Regions from separate parts of the Homo sapiens genome. Here region 1 is linked to region 2. Evidence: promoter capture Hi-C in human tissues and cell types (Jung and others, 2019). All regions are on one chromosome and are shown on one strand. Each heading gives the region's core, a stretch centred on a gene start or on the middle of the fragment in contact. The rest is flanking DNA. Distances are from core to core; before and after follow the strand shown. Region 1 overlaps TENM4 (teneurin transmembrane protein 4). Region 2 holds the start of TENM4 (teneurin transmembrane protein 4).

The links. Contacts are between HindIII fragments. The study calls those that stand out against the background at their distance.
Region 1: a contact is called between a fragment that was not itself captured here and the fragment with the promoter of TENM4 in region 2, in 1 of the 25 tissues and cell types used here (dorsolateral prefrontal cortex).

Annotation. Positions count from the first base shown.
Region 1 is chr11:79,250,740-79,258,083 of GRCh38, forward strand. All of the region lies in intron 2 of TENM4 (teneurin transmembrane protein 4), which reads right to left. Among named protein-coding and RNA genes, the nearest start is that of MIR708, 150 kb to the right of the region's middle. The HindIII fragment of the contact is 3,500 bases long and covers 191-3,690 here.
Region 2 is chr11:79,434,863-79,442,279 of GRCh38, forward strand. It overlaps TENM4 (teneurin transmembrane protein 4), which reads right to left and starts at 6,168. Exons shown (of 34, transcript NM_001098816.3): 1 at 5,647-6,168. RefSeq lists silencers at 5,757-5,866, 6,127-6,296. The HindIII fragment of the contact is 13,466 bases long and covers 1,003-7,417 here.

The DNA of each region.
Region 1 (7,344 bases), core at 691-3,190, 190 kb before region 2:
CTGATGATCACAGATGTCCACGGAAGGCAAATTTAGACAACAACTTGCTAGGCGAAGCTTAAACTTTCAATTGCTTTTTAAATCAAATAGGTGTCTGGCTATACAATTACTTCACAAACATGCATTTCTTTGGGCTGTATCCTTGAAAGAGGTTTAAAATGAAAGGATCCACTAGTGGTGCTTCAAGAAGCTATAAGTGTTGAACTTCTGTTTCTGGCAACATAGTAGACTGGTTTTATGGATCTCTCTTCCCACCAAAACTATATAGAAATGTGGTTCAAAATGAATTGGGAAAAAAAGCAATTAAGAAACATTTAACCAAAGCTTTAAGTGAAAGAGCTGAAGACATAGTAGGCCAGAAGTATATGAGACACAGGCACACGTCTTAATAGCTAGAGGCTAGAGTTTTAACATCCACGTGGGGGAAAAAAGATGTAGCTCTGGGCCATGTGAGGCAGAGTTGAAACTAAGCTCTGACACCCTGAATAAGGTCTGGACCTTGGAAGGGTTTCCTCCCTCCATGTATGAGATGTTTGCCCATCCAGCTGCATAGGAAACCAAGAAGCTTCATTCTGCTCAGGGCTTTGGACAGAAAAATAAATAGCCTATGATGTATAAAAACTCAAACCTGCACCACATGCAAGCATGAAGTTCAAATTTATATCACCCGTGGGTTGCTAAAATCCTAAACCAAGAAATTAATGTAAAAACTGTCCTAGGACAAGTAGGACCTCTAAGTTGCTTGCTCAAATCAGGCACGAAATAGCTCTTTAGACTCTGTAGGGTCACTTTTATCACCTTGAATGCAGGGAAATCCCACTGGAAAAATAAAACAATATCACAAACTACATCACCTGAAAATGAGATTACAAAAAAATTAGAAATCACCCAAGAAAACACTCTACCAGCAGAGCAACAAGAAGGTTTGACACCCTTGACATACTAAAATACTCTGATAGATTATACATGTATTTAAATTACTAAAAAGATAAAGGAATAAAAATCATGTTAAAATAATAAAATTATGAGAAAATATAAGCTTGAAAAATAAGCAAATAAAACTCGAAAAAATGAAAAAAAAACATTATCACTAAAATTAAAATTCAGAAGCTGAATGAAACAGCAGATTAAGTACAGCTAAAGAGATATTTAGTAAAATAAAAAATAGACTTGAGGAAATTTCCCATAATGCAGCACAGGGAACTAGATGGAAAATATGACTGATCTGTCAAAACAAAAGAGGGCAAATCAGAAGATCTAACATACAACTAATGGAAATTTCAAAAGGAGAAAATGAGGGAGAGGAAACAAAACTATGGAATAAAAAGGGCAAAGAAAAAATTGTAAAAGCTCTCGGAGTGTTGGTTTTCTTTTGCTTTCTGAAGGTGGCCAATCTTTGGAAGGCTGAGGAATTATGAAATAAACAGAATCTGTGAATTGAAAGCAGCACACGGTTTAACAGTCATCCCTGGGGAAAAGGATGCTGCGAAGAAGTTCTCTCTTTTTCTTTTTTGAGACTGAGTCTTGCTCTGTCGCCCAGGCTGGAGTGCAGTGGCGCGATCTTGGCTCACTGCAAGCTCTGCCTCCCGCGTTCACGCCATTCTCCTGCTTCAGCCTTCCGAGTAGCTGGGATTACAGGCGCTCACCACCACACCCGGCTAATTTTTCTTTTTTTGTTAAGTAGAGATGGGGTTTCACTATGTTGATCAGGCTGGCCTCGAACTCCTGACCTCGTGATCCGCCCGCCTCGGCCTCCCAAAGTGCTGGGATTACAGGCGTGAGCCACTGCGCCTGGCTGAAGCAGTTCTACTCTCTAGTTTGTCGGCCAGAAAACTAGGGCAACTACTGGGTGCTGTGAACTATCTATAGTGGAAGATTGAATCATTGCTCCTAATTCTTCACCCTTCTCCTCGTGCCCTTTGCCCTGGACTTTTCAGTACTTCCTACTACAGGTGGAGTGCATTTCCCTACCCACTAGGGAGCTTGACCTCTCCCTTCTGCTGCCATGAAAAGAATGTGCCCCAGCTCTCCTGTGGGTCCAAGGAGGATGAGAGACTCATGGAGCAGACCCGGATCCACCTGCTGATTGGAGTTAAACCCCCCAGAGCCCAGTTTAGATCAGCTGACCCCAGCTCACTCCCAGACAGACGAGTAAGAGTCAATGATTGTTTTAAGCTACTGAATTTTCAAGTGGCTTGTTAATGCAGCATGATTGTGACAGTACAGTTGCTTAATACATATATTATATCAACAGATTTTAGAATTCTGAGATAGACATTGTTACCTCCATTTTACGGTGAAGAAAAGACAAAGGCTCCAAGAAGGAATGCAACTTACCCAGTGTCACACGAAAGTAAACTCAACAACTAAGGCTTATTCTGTCTGTGAAGCCCCAACTTTTAACTTCTGTACCAAATTGCTTCTCAGCAAATGCTTGTTGGATTAATGGATGAACAGACAAAGGAATAACAGCCCATCCACTGGGGCCAAAAACATAAACTGCACTCACTCAAACTCACACTCAGGGCCTGACCACCGTAAGGCCTGAGCAAACTCATCAATGTTCCCAAAGAGGCTATTTTCCTTTTATGAGGTGTCTGCTGCACAAAGAGCTTGCCGGGAAAACAAATCCCCTTCATGCCAGGAAACAAACAAACACTGCACTGGAGTGGAAAATAATCGCAGCCTGTCAGACTCCTTGGCATGCTGATGATCTTCATGGTCCAGCAGATGATGTCAAGGATGTGACCTCCGGAGGCTCACAATAGGCAGTCGAGGAAGCCCTCATCTAAATGGATGACACAGAGTCCCACAGCTGATCCGCGTCTTAGTGCCTGGTACTTTAGCAGCTGCTGGGGAACTGTCTGATTGGTACAGCTTCTCCTCTGAACCGATGGGATCCTAAATAATTAATCGCCCTGTTTTCTGTGGGGTGGGAATGGGCAGACCGTCCAAGAGGCTACAGAGGTTTCCCTGTTTAAGTAAGAGAGGATGAAGACGTTTAGACCTTCATCCCTCCCCATTTGATTCAGAATCTCAAAATAAACTGAAATAAAATCGATGATGAACTTCTTTTGGTTTCATAAAAGTACCAAACTTATCTCCAATCCAGTAGAAAAAAATAGACAAAGAATATGAATATTCTATTTACAGAAGAACAAATACGAACAGCTAGTAAACATATGAAAAGACACTTGGTCACACTGATAGTTAAAGAAATGCAGATCAAAACAACAGTGAAATTACATTCTTTTCCCTATCAGGTTGGTGAAAATGGAAAAGCTTGATAATTTTCCAGTGTTTACCCACAGGAAAGGGGCATCCTCATATGCTGTCGATGGGAGTGTCCACTGGTGAAACTATTTTGTAGGTCAATTTGGCAATCAATACCTATCAAAATTTAAAACTTTTTGGCTCATTTATTCTATTATTAGAAATTTACTCTCCACTTACACCCATCCCCCAAAACATGCCAAGATAGGCATATGTCACAGCAAAAAACTAGAAAAACGTAAGTGTCTTTGAGCAGAGACTGAGGTAAACGATGTATGGCACATTCAACAATGGAAAAATATGCAGCAGTTAACAAGAGTAATTAGTTTTGTAAGGACTGATAGTGAAACACCTCCTAGGTACGTTGTCAAAGGGAAAACCCAAGAACAGAGGATAAATGGGCTCTTTGGTATAAATAAAATATGAGCCTACACTTTCTTTTACGGAAGAATAGCAGAAAACTCTTTTGCTGTGGCCACCCTTGGAGAGAGGCAGCTAAGGAGCTAAGACAAGTCACGCGTTCTTTTCTGACTTTCTGGACTCTGTACTTTCTGATCATGCACATCCAATTTTTTAAAGTCAACAGGAGTTACTGGGGCAATGAGATTAAAGGCCATTTTGTTTTCCTTACCCTTGCACACATCAAAAATCACTTATATTAAGTGCTGCAACTGACTATAATATTGTGTTAATATTATATAATGTGTTCAATGCCACGCTGGTGAGGTGAGAGTGGAGGAGAGTCACATACACAAGCAGCTGGTGTACAGGAAAGGATCTGGAAGGAAAGATAGTGTCAATCACCCCAGTGGGTTTATTTGACAAGCTTGAGTTGTTCTTCCCTGGGAATAATCAGAAAAATAAGAAACTGGGGCTTGGGAGGTGGAAGGAGACAGTGGAGGTCGGGTAGAATAGAAGCTTTTCCATGCATCCTTGAGAGCCATGGAGGGGACAAAGGAAAAGTCTTCCCAGTTCTGGAAGGGCGTCATATGCCTTGCAGATGATGGGAAGCCCAAAGTGAGAGGGTCCCACTGGGCTTGTGGGGGCATGGGCAGCAGCCCCGCTGGGTGACCAGAAAGGTCTGGAATTCACCGCAGAATTGGGGGCGTGGTGCAAATCTCCCCACAGTTAGGGAGGTTGAAGAGGAAAAATAAAGATGCCTATTTTTCCATCTCAAGTGTCCAAGTTTATTTTCCTGTGGGACTAAGCTGCAGAGTACAGGTGACCCCTCTGTCTCCTTTACACTCTGCACCCAGCATGGTGCCCAGTGCACAGAAGGACCTGTGTGTGAAATGCATGGGATGCTGACACAGTCTTTTCAGTCCGGCCTCTCATGTTCCTAACGCCTCCGTGTCTTACATAGATCCCTGCAAGCCTGCAGCCAGGTATCCTTTAGAGCCTAGAGTCGGCTGGCAGAAGATATTTATACATGCAAAGAAGCTCAAAGAACTCCTCTTGGAAAGCCTGACCTATTTCACCAGTTAGTGATATCTGAACAATAAAGATTCATTTGACTTTATTAGATCAAATGTAAAACTGAATTTAAAATTAATTAAAAATGACGGCATACAGCTCCTTACAAAAACACCTTTGATGTGCATTCAACACATTGAATAGCTAAAGTTAGGGAAGCCAATGAGTTTTCAATTATCCCAGCTACAGGCAGAAAGAGATAACATGGATAAAAGAAATCCACAGATAATCAAAATTAAAAATCCTTTATTCTTTCTTTCCATTTCAACTTTTGTCCCTAACACAATCTTGTTAAGACTCTAAGGAAAGCTCAGGTTTGTTCAATCTTCTCTTCTGTCCCTTTCTCTATTGAAGTAGAGATGTAAATAAGGTAAGAGAAAGTGGCCTGTCCTGAGAAAGCACTGTGTGTCAGAGCAGAGCTGGGCTGGACAGTCTTTGCTCCTCCAGCTCTTTTCTCTACCCTTCGCTGCCCTTTTCTGTGCCCCAGGAGGCTGAGCTTTTGGGGTGATATCAATGGAATTCTTTTCCCTTTGACTTCCGGTTAGGGTTAGGCTATTGGAGCCACCAGCCTCAGAGGACAGAAAAGAGAGAGGCTGGGTTGTTTATTCCCCCAACTCTTCCCTGCTAGGCTATAGTTGTTAGTAGTGGCTTCTTTCTTCTACCTAAGGCATGGCTGCTGTCCAGCATCTTCTCCTGTAGCCATAGCTCTCAGTAACTACTCCTGCCCTTTCCTATTTAGGCCTAGTGGGTAGTAACAGTTTCCTGGTGTTGCTAATCCTGGGGTGCTGCGCTATCTCACCGGCTTTCTGAAACCCTGCTCCTCTCTCAACCCTCCTCAGTTACTCCATTTGAGTGCCTATCAGTTCCCCACACTTGCCATGTATTGTAGCATTTCATGTCCTCATTTTCCAGGGAAGTGGAGAGGCTGAAAGAGGGTAACTGCTTTGCCTAAGGCCACATCACCAGGCACTGGCAGAACCAGAATCCCAAGCCAGGACTGCCCAGTGCCAAAGCTTGGAGATCTGACAACTCGATTTCACCAGTGGGAAACCAAAGCAATCAGTGAGAATCTGCAAAATGGTGTCACCTACAAGAGAACCATTTGAGTTTCCATCTCAGAGTTCAAAGGGTTCAGAGGCTGGATCTTTAAGACTGTCCATGTCAGGTTTGTCTGGACCTGTTAGGAATCCTGCTGTTTATCAATGACTTTGTCTCTTGGATTTTAACTTTTAAAGGTCCTGTCTCATTTGTGGCTCCTGGACTCTGAGCCTCACACAGGAGACTTTCAGATTTCAGGCTTTCATTGGGTGATAGGGCTTTCTGGGAATAGGGCTTGAGAGTGAGGTGGAAACTCAGTTACGTTACTAATCATGTCCTCATTCATCCATCCATCTGGTCACTGTGCAATTACTAAGGGCCTGTGGAGTGACCAAGATGAGCAAGACATAACAGATGGCTCCTCATCTAGTCAGGATCAGTGACAAAGTCTTCCTGTAGAAAGCAACCACTGAGCTGCAATTTAAAGGATAAGCAGGAGTGGGCATGTTGTGGATATGAGAGACAGAGCAGTGAATGAAGGAAGGCAGGAGCATTCCAGGCAGAAGAGGTGGCCTGAGCACAGGATGCATGCAGGTGGTAGGAGATGGGCTGGAGGGGCACATATGGACCAATCATGGTGGGCATTGTTCAGTGTACTAAGGAACTAGGCCTCAAGTATCAGACTGGGGCCCAAGGTCTGGGCCAGCCTAGTAGCCTCTCAATCTGAATGTTGTGTCCCAAAGGGTTGTTATGCCACTTCTTAAAGAATTAAAAAAAAATTTCCCAAACCTATTTAGAAGTAGAGATAATAGTTCAATGAACTCCTATAGACTCAGCATTCAGGATGCTGTTCCTTAATCACCTCCAGTTTCAGGTAAAGACTGAATCTAGTGCCAGGAGCTCACCAAGGCTGTGGTGCAAATGTCCTCAGCTAGAGGGAGAGGACACCAGCCAGAGGTGCTCCTTGAGCCTAATAGAAACAATGGCCAGCAAATACTGATCCACTTGCTTCTTTTCATCTGCATCTTGGAAGGGTGGAGGGTGGAGGGGCCCACAGCTAATGCAACAAAGTTAATAAACTAGAAATAGTTGACACGTGTCTTTGACACACAGGCTGCCAAACCATCTGCCAGGGAGGTTGAGAGCCTCCTCTAGTAGAGGTTTCTGGAGTAAAAAGGAATACACAGGCTATCAGAGCAGGTCACACAGAATCTCACACTGGCCCATTATTAAGGCCACCACATTGCTGCTCAGAAGGGGAAATTTCAAACTGAACTTGAGACCAAAGAGCATCCTGACTCCACAAATGCTATCATTAAGGATCATCATAGATAATGTGGTTTTAACTAGAAGGGCTGAGGTACTGGCAAATGTTCAAAAGACTTGTCACGTGAGAATCCACCAGCACCATGGTGAAAACAGCCTGCAGAATGAGAGTCTGCTCAGGTGCAAGAGTTTAAGCCTTCTTCCTGCAAACACCTGCGAGGTGAGGGGTTCACTCAATCCATGGTACAGACAGGTTGGGTGGAAAACTTGGTGTTATCCCCCTTACATTAATGG
Region 2 (7,417 bases), core at 4,918-7,417:
AAAACTACACAGTATGTACAAGGATGGTTACTACAGTCTTGTTATGATAATAAAAAAAAATAAACACAAAGTCAAAAAATTAGGTACTCATTAAATTATATCTGTCATACTATAACATTGGGGGTCTATGTAGCATTACAAATGTCACCGTAGGAGGAAAAGAGAGCATGAAAAGTTTTGCATGCTTTATCATTAGATGAAAATAAGCATTCAAAACACTATACTAGGATCTCATCATTTTTTCTACATTCATAAAGTCACAAGGTACAACCCAAAATGTGGTGGAACATTTTGGCTTTGCTTTTCTCTGTAATGCCTGAATTTGCTACAGTGAGCACATATTACTTTGGTCATTAGAATAAAGACTGTAAAAGAAAAAAAAAGTAATAAATATATAACCCCGGAAGCAATAGGCACATATATCTACATGGCTTCATTAGACATTTTCCATACAGAGAACATTCAGGGATCCATGTTTGCTTGGCTCCCTGAGAACTGGGGCATATTACTTTCAAAGTGGCCCCCACAGCCCATCTGCCAGTGCAAAGCAAAGATGGAGTGATTCAGCTTTCAGTTACAATAAAAGCCAAGCTGATAGACCATGTAAGAAGGCAGGTAGAAATCGGCCCCTTAGATCTAGAATTGACATTGATTTACCCTGCTAGGCTCTTGGAATCAAATCTGCAAGGAGGTGATTTAAATCCTATTCTTCTTTTGTTTAACTTTTTAGATTAATGGATGTGGGAGAAGTTACTGGGACAGGAACTACAAAAGGTTTGGGCTGGGGCTGTGTAGCTGTTTGTTAGACCAGGACAGGGGCTGAGAACCCCGGGCGGAGACTTGCACCACTGGTGCTTATCAAGTCTCATTTTCCTTCAACCTCTAGCACAATTAGAGTGTGAGCTGGCATCTTAAATTGAGTCTTTTGCTTGTGTTGCCCAACAATCTTTAATTCCTAATCACCTTCTTTTCCCTTATTTGTAACTTTTGATTTGGAAATATCGGGTTATGTAACATGTCAATCTGCATGAGGATGCAACTCTGTCAGAAAAAGGGACTCAATGAAGCACAAATTCTAACAAAACTGGAAATGACTTTCCTAAGAAAAGAAAAGAAATTTTCATTTCACGCATTTGAAGCTGGTTTTAAATAGGCTGGATGCAAGGTTGGTGGTTCTTTCGGGGCTGTTGATTTCTCTGCCCAATCTCCACCCAACAAATGCAGGATGCTTCCTGGAAGGGGATAAGGAGGTAGAAAGGAACAAGCATCTGTGAAGGGACCACAGTATGCCAGAGGCCTTATCGATGTTAAAACTGACAGTGTTCAATAATATGAAAGATTTAAAAAGATGAGGAAATGTTCTAGGTTAAAAGAGTTTAAAGAGACATGAAAAGCTGAATGAACTCATAAGCCAGGATTTTCTATTGCTATAACGGACGTTATTGGGACAATTGGAAAAATCTGAATAAAGTTTATAGACTGGATCATAAAAAAAAACCCTGACAGTGTTGCAAACTAAGTAATATTGTGCCATTTTACAGGGGAGAGGACTGAAGCTCCAAAGACAATTTGCCTAAGGCCACAGAGCCATGATTCCAACCCAATAGTTAAGAGATTAAAGTCACATCCTATCACCTTACTCCCACAAAACCACAAAAGATTGAGGAGACTATACCAAATAGAATCAGATTCTATTGGAAGAGAGTCCGTGGGAACCCATTACTCTAACACCTAGCCTTCTACCTCATATTCCAGGTCACTCCACTCACTATAGAACTATCCTTTGATGGTTCTTGTTCAGACCAAGCACTAGTTCTGCCCGTTGGCATCCGCACTGGTCAAGGCCGGTCTATTAGGGTGGCTGATCCGCTTACCGCACCACTCTACCTCCACCCCCAAACAGAGGCCTTGATGAAAACAAGATGAGAGCAGAGGAAGAACCCAAGAACTCTTTCTAGAAAACCAAAGCTCTCCGTCCCTGATCCCTTCCCCCACCACAGAAGATGGCAATTCCACAAGCCTTCCGCACCCTGCCCTCCCCTCAGTTCAAGACACATGCTGGAAATAAAAGCTTCCCCGAATTAGCCCCCTAAAAGCACACAAACATCTATGCCCTAAGTCCTGGCTGAATATCTTGAGGACTTTCAGTTCCCCAAACATTTCCAAGGACCTACGGCACACAGGTGCCGCTAAAGGAGACACCCGTTCACTCCAGGCAATCAGCTCCAACAGGTCCAGTTCCACTAAGTGGAAGGGCTTCCCGTCAACACCCTCACCGGAGAAAACGGATTCCTCCTCAGCATTCCCTTATAACACCTGGAAAGGGGAAACCTGTTTTTTGTGCTATGTGTGACTTCGCTGCAAATCTCTCTGCTCCCCAACACATGCACACACACACACACAGGCGCGCAGAAAACTAGTTCCCACTGTCACCACCAGTGAAAACACCCCTCGTAACTTTGACGAGAAGGGCTCCCCCGCTGAAAGCCCAACTGCAGAGCGCCCGGAGCGCGCTGTGAGTCCGCAGGAACGCGGCCGGGCCGGGGACGGGAGAAAGGCGCGGCCGGGACCCTGCACTGTGCCGCGCGGCGCTTGCGGCTGGAACTTGGCCTGGAACGCGGTCTTCTCGGCTCCAGTTTCCCGCCCAGGCCCCGCCCACCCGGCCGCCCCGCTGGTTCGCACCGCTGCTCCGGCCACCGAGGAGCCCAAAGTTGGCGGCGTCCCGCGGACTCCGGCGGAGAGCGCGAGGGAGTCGCGGCCGACTCCTGTACCACGAAGACAACTGGAGGCCGGCGGGGGAGGCGGGCCACGAGGGGCTGGGGCGAGGGAGCTGGGATGCGCGGGCCCGGCTCGCCGGGAAACAGGTTGCCGCGGAGTCCCGTCCCCTCCCCCTCTGCGGTCCCCGCCGCGACCTGATTCCCGCCCTGCCCGGGGAGCTAACCCAGCCGCCTCCGGGGCGCCCTCCTTCTTCCTGGATTCCCACGGCTGGACCAGAGCCCCTCTGGCAGCCGGGTTAAAGGCTCCTTCAGCAAGGTCAAGGCGCGGCCGGCTGGCACCTGGGGATTTTTTTCCAGCCGAGCACTGGCTTTTCAATCGCATTGTTAAGGATCATGGCAGCGGCAGGAAATCCGAAGGGCCCCACAGGTCTGCGGGAGGGAGGATTTATTTTACAGCAAGGAACAGATTCAGACAGATCGGGGATTTCAGTGGGAGGGGACGAGAGGTTTCAGGACGCTGGAATGTGGCAAAAACAAAACACTCCCCACCCATGCACATCACCATCTCCTGACTGCGGGCTGGGGGGAAGGGAGTTCAGGGCCAATGTGTCCCAGACTTCAGCGTTCCCCACGGCTGTGTCAGGGCTGGGGTGGCTTATCCCCCTACAGACGAAAATCAAGATTTAAAAGCATACTCTTACTGTGGTTTCTCTATCAAAGCCCATCAACGTGATACACAGGCTGCGGCGCTGGAGGGAAGCGGCGAAACGGGGAGAATAAACGCAACAGAAGCAAACTGCTGTCTGCAGAGGCGAGAGGCGAAGGAACGGAAGCCATACCCGACCCCAGCCCCATCCCGTCCCCATCAGCGCCGGGCTAGCGCAGGAAACCAGGAATAGGTGTAGGTAAGGGTGGCAGCCCGGCAGAGCCAGCGTTCTACTCCCTCTAACCCCTCGCCAGCGTGGGCCTGGATGGCTGGGCTGCCTGGGCATCTCCAAGGGGGACCAGGCACCGCGGGCAGGTTTCTAAACACGTGAAGGGCACAGGGCTTGAAAGACAAGGAGGGGCGCCCAGGAAGGGCGGAAAAGAGGGGCTTTGGGGCTCCCCAGGACACCAAGTCAGTTTCTGAAAACGGCGTTCCCTGGAAGGCCTTCCAACACCTCCGAGGGAAGACTTGGAGCTCTGAAGACCCAATGAAACCTCAGTTCTGACTGACTCCTCCTCTGCGATCAATTCCGGATGCCCCCACTTAGTCCCTGCCTCGGTAACCGGTTCTTTGGGGACAGCAGCATCAGCACCCGACGCCCATCGCACAAGTGGGCGCCGTGGTGCGAGGCGTATCCTAGCTACCCAGGCCGGGGTGGGGGCGCCCCGGTACTTACACTCCCCAAGCAGGCAAACTTTCAGGCTTGTCTTTCGAGAACCGGGAGCTCGCATCACAGTTCCGGGTAATCACCGAGGCAGCTTATGTAATTGCCCGCGATGCCGCTCAGCAGATCTCTCTCCTTACTCGGCCTCAGAGCTCAGTACATGGGCACCCTCTTCCCCCCACCCCCCACCCCGGCGATTGGAATCCCGAGCTTGCCCCACCACCGCCTTCTACAAAGCAGCGGGGTGATCTCGTGTGCTACAAACACCAAGCCAGTATGCAGGTTCAGGCAAAACTCTGGCTGCCTCCCTGCGCCCCTTTCACTGCGTCGATGGTTTACAGATAACTGCATTTCTATAAACCCTCTCTCCACGGTTAGGGGGTGGGAGGGAGTTAGAGATCGGGTGGGGGCTTGGCGCGGTACTGTTGAGGGCTCTGCACCCAACTGAGCAGTAATACACTCATCCACATGGACGCGGGTGCATAAATCGCCTTAACATTTTGCCCTGAAAGCGGAGCCAATTTCCAAAGTTAAGGACCACGCAGCTGAATTTCCAGTACTTTCCAACCTCGCCTAGGCGGGGGCAGGCAGAGAAGGGGCGGGCAGCGGGCAGCTAACTCGCCCGACCCCCCCGCCAAGAAGGACTCACTAGGTGAACCCCCCGCCCTTCACCCAAGTAGTTGGTTGTGTATTCCTCGGTTGCGTGTGTGTGTCCACACACACACACACACACACACACACACGCCGCCCCACTACCTTCCAGTCTGCTCCTCCAATGTAACGACCGCATTTAAAAATGGCAATTAAAATGACTGAGGAGCTCGGTGATCACATTTCAACCCAGAGCACATTTCCCGAAGCTGGGGGTGAGAGTAGTCATACAGTCACACTCACACCCGGGAGCCCTCCAAGCGTCCATCTGGCGGCTGCAGCCTCAGTTGGCTCCTAGACGAACATCAATACCGCGGCCGGGCGCCCGGTGAGGAGAGGCGGGCGCCCCGCGGGTTGCAGAGGGCGAGGAGCTGGGGTCGCATCTCCAGGATCTGAGCTCCAACCACCGCCCGTGCGGGGCTGCTGCAGCCGGCACTTGCCCCGCAGGGCAGGCTGCAGCCGCTGAAGCCCGGCGCCGCCTCGCGGGCTCCTCCAGCGCCCGACGGGGGCCTGGGGCGAGCTAGTCTGCAGAGGGGCTGCAGGCGACCGGGCCGGGGCGGGGAACGGGATCCGGGAGAGGCAGACGAACCTGGGGCGCGCCGCCTCCCTCCCACCCGCTTCCCACCTCCCTGCCCTCCCCCAACCCTTGCTCCCAGGCTCCAGTCCGCGGCGGGCTCCGGGGGCTGCGGCGGCTCCAGGCTCCAGAACAGCTTGCCTCTTCGGCCACCCGCGCCCTAGCCTCCCTCCTCCTGGGCCAGGGGAGCAAGCAAACATCTCCCGGAGCCCTCGGCAGCCGCGTGAGCTACCCGAACCCTGCCCGGGCCAGCAGTGCAGAGGGCGATGGAGCTGGCGAGGCGTCGCCGCGGTCCCCAAGGCGCTTTTCCGTAGAGCGGATCACGCCGCCTTACCGTGGCTGCAGGCTGCTACCGCCGGGGAAGCGGCGAGGACGGCGGCAGGGAGGCAAGGCGCCGCGCCGGTGGCTCCTCTCTCTCTCGGCGGCGCGGCTCCTCTGCTCCGCGAGCCGTAGCGGGGCGCCCAGGAAGGAGCAGGTCCGGGCTCTGCGCTCAGCTCCAGCGAGACCAACAATAGCTCCCGCGGGGAGCGGAGCCCCAGCGAGCCTCCAGCCGCGCGCGCACGACCGGCTCCCGCTCCCGGCCGCTCCCGGCCGGCGTCCCTGCCAGCACTGCTGCCCCACATGAAACAGCTGCAATCCCGAGGCTTCTGGGGGGTTGGGGCGGGTGTGTGCGCGCGCGTGTGTGAGTGTGTGTGTGTGTGTGTGTGTTTAATAGCTTCCCTTCTCTTCTTCCCCTCCCTGCCTGCTCGCCTGCCTGCCTCCGTCCCCCACCCTCGCTCTCTTACACACAGAAAGAGAGGGCGAGCGAGAGAGAGACACACACACACACGCACACGCACACGCAGGTTACATGAATGGGAGGCGGTAGCCAATCCTACGAGGCCGGCGAGCCGCGCGGCGCACTGGCGCTGGGAGCAGGGCCGCACTCCGGCGCGGGGGGGCGCCACGCAGGTGATGGGCGCCTCTCCGGGGGCCACGCGCGGCCGCTCCCTCACCCCAGTCTCGGTTCCTCTGTCTCCTTCCCCCTTCCTCTCCGCCGCCTTCTCCATCTTCTCTCCTTTTACCTCCTTTGCTTTCTCGAGTTCTCCGAGCTCTCTCAGTTCGGTATCTTTCTGGTCTCTTTCTTCTTTTACCCTCCTTGCTTGCTTTCTCTTCCCCTTTCTGAAACTTTCTCTTTTCCTTTCTGGACTTTCTTGTACTTCCTCTCCTCTTGCCTTTTGTTCTTTCCTCCTCCTTTGGCTTTCTCTCCAGGCTCCCCGTAGCACGGTCTCGTCCCCTCTCCCTCCTCTTCGCCTTTCCCTGGGTCTCTCTGGCGCCCAGGGCCTCCCTTCTGCCTGCTCGCTGGATGTTACTCCACACCCCCCACCCCAACACTTTTCTAGGGACGGTCTCTTTCAAGTTGCTACTGCAGCACAATCAGAGTAATTAAGAGCTGAGATCTTGAGTTCCTTCTTCAGGCATGCAAGATGCCCAAAGAAAGGCCCTCCTTCCTCGGACAACTTCCCCAAAACCATGGTAACAGCTACTGAGTCGTGATAACAATCACTTAAAAAATAGCAGTGATTGCGGTCCAAGAGATTTCTGTCCCTCGAATGTTTGGATCGTGATGGCAAGCACATTTCCAAGAGAAGGGCATTTTTATGTGATGAGAGCGGTAGTTTGACTGAGTGGCAACTTGGAAGGGCTTTGGGGAAGAGACTGGAGGAATTCCCACTCCAGCCCTGCTGCCTGCTGGCTAAAGGACTTAGTGCGAGCCATTTCCCCTTACCCGGCTTCAGTTTTCTCATCTATAAAATGGATGATACCGACTTCACCAGTTTTGGTGAGGATTAAAAGAGAGAACAATGGAAAGAAAGCACTGGGTGTATATGAGATGCTTAATTTATGTTAGTTTCCTTCTTTAAGACAACTTCCTTCATGATCTTCTGCTACAGTGTGTCTCTCTGATCTAAAGTAGTCAATGAAGGAGGAAATGTGACAATGCTAATTTCACATAAATGTGAAAGGAGGGGTAGGCTATTTTGAAAACTCTTCTGTGTGGTGAGGAGACTGTCTAGCCAGTTGCCATATGCTGATTATAAAGGCATCACAGATTATAAACGTGG